Linked DNA regions of Homo sapiens: region 2 is linked to region 1. Evidence: promoter capture Hi-C in 16 types of primary human blood cells and fetal thymus (Javierre and others, 2016). All regions are on one chromosome and are shown on one strand. Each heading gives the region's core, a stretch centred on a gene start or on the middle of the fragment in contact. The rest is flanking DNA. Distances are from core to core; before and after follow the strand shown. Region 1 holds the start of TMCO5A (transmembrane and coiled-coil domains 5A). Region 2 overlaps LOC105370765 (a long non-coding RNA gene).

The links. Contacts are between HindIII fragments. The CHiCAGO score rates a contact against its expected background, and 5 or more counts as called.
Region 2: a fragment that was not itself captured here is called in contact with the fragment with the promoter of TMCO5A in region 1 in 1 of 17 cell types (M2 macrophages); the score reaches 5.2 in M2 macrophages.

Annotation. Positions count from the first base shown.
Region 1 is chr15:37,933,292-37,935,996 of GRCh38, reverse strand. It overlaps TMCO5A (transmembrane and coiled-coil domains 5A), which reads right to left and starts at 1,357. Exons shown (of 12, transcript NM_152453.4): 1 at 1,303-1,357; 2 at 649-740. The HindIII fragment of the contact is 2,202 bases long and covers 1-2,155 here.
Region 2 is chr15:35,094,986-35,097,915 of GRCh38, reverse strand. It overlaps LOC105370765 (a long non-coding RNA gene), which reads left to right. Exons shown (of 2, transcript XR_932103.4): 1 at 1-1,390. Among named protein-coding and RNA genes, the nearest start is that of NANOGP8, 11 kb to the right of the region's middle. The HindIII fragment of the contact is 2,996 bases long and covers 1-2,755 here.

The DNA.
Region 1 (2,705 bases), core at 108-2,607:
GCAATCTTTTCTTAGATAAACTATTCACAAAACCTGCTCATACAATACACATTTATTGAACACTTTTATCTAAGCACCTGGCATATCACTTCTGGTTGGGCCTGGCTTTCTGCAGAGCCACAAGGGGTTTCCACCAGCATGATAGGGCTTCAATCTTTCCCTTCCTTCTCCCACCTCAACACCTCTCCCTCACTTGCCTGCTACAAAGTTTGAAATTTTTACCATGAGAGTAATTCCATTGAGCACACCCACATAGGCTCTAGGCATAGCTTTCAAAAATGCAAATATCTTTTTTGAAGTAAATTTAAATGAAATAATGGTAACTCTAGAGTATTTTGGGAAGGGTACATGGGAGGCTCTTGATATATTTTTCTTTTTCTACTAATGTAAATTAATTCATTGGTTTGTGTTTCAGTTGATTAACCACTATTAGCACAGTGAGGCACAGAGGCTTTTGTTTTAGATAGGAATGAAGGATAATATTGGAAAGTTAAGTCCTATCTTGGAAGGGCTTGCTTGGATGGGGGATTTACAGTAATCACTTCAGGAAGGTATGGCATGCTTGGGGTAGGGTGCGGAGGTGGTTGCATAACAGGAGTAGAAGGGGAGAAGGAGGCTGGAAGATGAGGCAAGGGGTCAATAGCGAACCTGCTTTACACCTTGGTCTCTGGATATGGCTTTGCATAATCATGACTACTTAATCCAGCTGATCTTTCTTGTGTCCTTCCATTGTAGATTCCCTAAAATGCCAACAGAGATGTATCTAATGAATTGGAGAAATGGGTTCATTTATGAATACAGTAACTAGGGAAGAGTCCCAAAAAGTAGAAATCAAATTAAGTTAACTCATTTTCTCCCTCTAATCCCCACATTTTAACCATGACAAAACTCAGCCTTTTGATTCTTCTGCCCGTGTTCTGATTATACCCTATTAAAGATACAGTCAGGATACAGAGATAATGCTGGAATATACGTCCTATTAATAGATATAGTCAGAGATGGTTTATCAACATAAAACCCTGTGGAAGTTTATACAAGACAATATAAAGAAATAGAGATAATCAATAAGTCTCTTTTTGCTCTAGGCCAGTTGCTTTCCATAAAGCCCCATGGGCATGGATGTAGGTTTACAATATCCCTGAAAAGTAATCTTTGCTCTCTATCTTTGCTTATGCCAGAATTTCCAGATATTAAGATCTTTAGTATTAAAGAGGGCTCAGAAAACCAAGTATATGTAAATCATTTGTCTCTCCCTTCCCCTTAGTTTCTTTTTTTCCCCTTTATTTCTTCTACAAACTCTACCTCCCCTTTTTGATGTGTCTTGTCTTCCTGATCCTTCCCTAGTCAATTAGCTTCTGAGGAGTCTAATCTTTCTCCACTGGAACTATCCAATAGAATCTCAGAACATTCTGAGAGGTCATGACATAGGATGGGCGGGGCAACATGTCATAGTGGGGTGGGTGGCAATGGTTTCTCATCATTTGTGTAGAGTCCAGAGCCTAGATAAGTGTGTGGATTTCATGGCCAAGTCTTCCCTGGATAGCAGTAGGTTCAATGGATTTGATTTCTGGGCTGTTTGAAGGGGCAACCTCTATCTTTTATTTCTCTGGCAGATAAAGCTCTCTTCCTGCCTCAGTGTGACTAAAATGGAAAGTCTAGGTCTTTTGGCCAGCAGTCTAATTTCATCATGTAGCCAACTAACTACTCATTCATTCAACAAACAGTGAAACACTGAATGAACACGATGTGTATCTTCTAGGCTCTGTTCTAAGCACTGGAGGGAAAGAATGAACAAAGCAGCCAAAAGCCCTTGACCTCATGAAGTTTATATTCTAAGATGTGTGTGTGTGTGTGTGTGTGTGTGTGTGTGTGCGCGCGCGCGCGTGTGTGTAGGGGGGACTGGTAACACAATCAATAAAATAAATAAAATTATTTTTACTTGATATGATAAAAGAGGAGACTGCTGAAATTTTACCCCAAAGAGTTAAAGAAACCAGTGACTAACAAATTCTTGAGCTTGCAGAATAGCAGATAAGAAAATAAACAACTTGCTGAAATGCTGAAACTCCCTCTATTTGAGAGATTTCAAAACAAAAAACCTAGCTGAAATTGGTTGGAACCAATAAGGCCAACTGGAGTCTGTGCAGAACAAGCTTACTGATGTCACAGCTTGAATTTCCACTGCATGTTTTATACTAATTTCCCCTGAATTTGCACATGGGACCCATAAGGAGGCATGAAGAGATAATCGTGCATGCCTGAGGACTTTCCAGACCTCCCCTTTTCTTCTACCAGTCATTTGCTAATTCCAGAATCCACTCCCTAAACCTTTTCTAATAAAAGTACTGCCTGAGAGCCAGCACAGAGAGACAGATTTGAGTTGGATTCCTGTGTCCTTGTTAGTAGACCTACAGTAAAAAGCCTTTTTTTTCTCACAAACCTTGTGTCATAGTATTGGCTTCCAGCACATTGGGCAGTGACACTCTTTTGCTTGGTAACACTGCCATGAGGAAACATAAACAGGTGAAGGAGGTAAGAGTGAGGAGGTTGTTGCAAGTATAATTAGGGTGGCGCAGAAGAAGCGACTGAGCATTCTCAGACCCGTTAAGTGGGGTGTAGATGTGGTAAGAAGCTTGGTGGACAAGAGAAGCCCTCCAGTTGTGCTGAGATGGACACAGAGTCCAGCAGATCTAGGAGCATGAAGG
Region 2 (2,930 bases), core at 8-2,507, 2.8 Mb after region 1:
AACATTTGTATAATAATACTTTATAAATTACCAATATTTTCAAATCTGTATTAGTTTTCTAGGGCTGCCACGACAAAATACCACAAATGGGGTGCCTTAAACAATAGAAATTTATTTTCCCACAGTTCTGGAGGGTGGACGTCCAAGATCAAGGTGCTGGCAGGTTTGGTTTCTTCTGAGGCCTCTCTCCTTGGCTTGTAGATGGTTTCCTCTCATTGTGTCCTCACATGGTCACTCCTCAGTGTGTGGACTGTGTCCTGATCTCCTCTTCTTATAAGGATATCAATCATATTGTATTAAGGTCTACTCATATGACCTTATTTTATCTTAGTTACCTCTTTAAAGGTGCTATCTCCAAGTACAGTCACATTCTGAGGTACTGAGAGTCAGGACTTCAGCATGTGCATTTGGGACAGGGGTTGTGGGGAAAAGACACAATTCAGCCCGTGAGTATCCATTATCTCATTTATCCTCATAAGCAATAACTGCAGCCACTCTGTGCCCGTGCACTATTTTCATGGTGAACTTCTTCAAAAGACGGCTCTTCTGCACCTAACTTTACTTCTTCAGGCCTTCATGATCTAGACCTCAAGTCTATTTATTTTGGAAAGGGGCTTTGTTCCTTAATGAGTGAATACAACAGTGCATCAAAATTCTAGAGTTTCTTACAGAGTTTAAATTGTCAAGAGCTGAGCCTCATTGTCAGTAGAAGAAGAAGAAGAAAGTGCTCCTTCCCTAGCACTGAGAAAACAGGAAAACTAAATTCGTAAGCAAAACTTGTTTTTTGCAGTCATTCAAAGCCTAAGTAAGGCATTTAAAGGTGCATATGTTGGGCATTTCAACTGGAAAAATGCTAGCCTAGTTAAGAATGGAAACGGGTACCTACTGCCTTGTACGTCTGCCTATTTTCTGACCCCAGGGCCCGCAAAGCACCCATTGATGTGAATGGCTCCTTTCATATGAAAAAAACAGTGAGGCTGGTCTCGAACTCCCAACCTCAGATGAACTGCCTGCCTTGGCCTCCCAAAGTGCTAGGATTACAGGCATGAGCAACCGCGCCTGGCCTTTCAAAAGGATCTTAATCCCAGGCCAATGTGGGGAGCACTGTATATACTACAGTATGACTGAGAGTTGTTTTAGAGCCCTGCAAAGTTCCCTTGTTAGCATTTTAGTCAGGGGTATGAAGACACTGTGCACTGCAAGACTCAACCCATTTCTGATCCCTTTCTCATGAATCACTCTGATACTATACCCAGAAAAAGCCATCACATGCCATCTAATGCATTTCAGGACTGCATCTGAGCTGCAAGCGGAAGACACAGTAGATGTGACATTGACTGTGAACTGCACATGAAGCAAGTGCAACCTCAGGCCTGCCTTGCTTCAGAAGGTGGGTAGCTATGTCTTGCCCTCTTTACAAGTTGAAAAGTGGGGAAACAATGCAATGGCTTGATCATAAGGTCACTTTCTCTCCAATCGAGAATTATTTCCCTTCCTTTTATAAAGTGGGAAAATGTAAAATCCTCCTGATGGGTAGAGTGATTTTTGAAATGTTTTTGGAAGGTAGAGGCTGCTGATTCTGTGCTTCCCTTTTTTCTCTAGGAATCTCCCTCTTCTCCTTTTCACTTCCTTCGACTTTTGATAGAAACAGTTTATATTAATATGGTGATGCCACTTATGTGTATAAATAAATGCAAACAGCTATTAAATGTTCAGAAAGTAGCATCAACATCTTTTTACACAACTTGTGCTAGTGAGTGTTTTTTCGTCATAATTTCCAAGTCCTGCTGCCAAAGAGCATTTCCCAGAGATCTTTGTAGTAGTGTATGCATCCAGCACATGATTGCGAGAAACCCACAACTGAGGAAGAGATCTTTAAGATTTGAAATTTGAAGAATTTTTGCCACTAAGTGACAGACCCTCACATCAATATTTAACTAACAAGGTTTTCTCTTAGCGTACACAAATATATATTTGATTTCGGTTCTAAACATTATATATATATATATGTGTGTGTATATATATTTATGTATGTATACACACACACATATATATATGAATCCATTTTATTCTGTTTTTTTTTAACTTTTATTAACCATGCCCTCTTGCCAGAAGAGTTTAGAGATCATCAGCATCAAAATTAGTGTATGTTGATGACTATCCCAGCATCCAAAACACAAAAATATGTAAGACCCTATCAGTGCACAAAGTTGTAGGCAGCTATGGGAAAGTGAGCATTTTTTTTTTTTTTTTTTGAGATGGAGTCTCACTCTGTCGCCCAGGCTGGAGTGTAGTGGTATGATCTCCACTCACTGCAACCTCCATCTCCCGGGTTCAAGCAATTCTCTGCCTCAGCCTCCCGAGTAGCTGGGATTGCAGGCACCCACCACCATGCCTGGCTAATTTTTGTCTTTTTAGTAGAGACAGGGTTTCACCATCTTGGCTAGGCTGGTCTTGAATTCCTGACCTCATGATCCACCCACCTCAGCCTCCCAAAGTGCTGGGATTACAGGCATGAGCCACCGTGCCCAGCCCAGAAAGTGAGCATTTTCTTAAATGAGCCTTGATTTCCCTCTTGCATACCAATGTAAAAATACCAATTAGCATCTTTTTTCTGGATCTGTGTTGTGTTTGTGCATATCTGCCTAGTAGCCCTCGTATTCTTTCTCCTCCCTCTCCTAAGAGCGCTTCCTGCTCTTTCCCTAATTGTTGGGCAGTAAGAGAGATGGGCAGATCAATCTAAGTGAGTAAAGCTTGCAGAGAGCAGAAATAGATTTGCTAACTTTGATGATGGCTTCTAGTGACTCCTTACCATACACGTGGCTGGGTCGCCATAAAGCCACCTGAGCCAATCACCTTAAATAAGTTAAAAGATGACATCGAGAGATTTTAAGCAGAGGTGATTTCATTTTTTTCCTCTCACTAGTTAT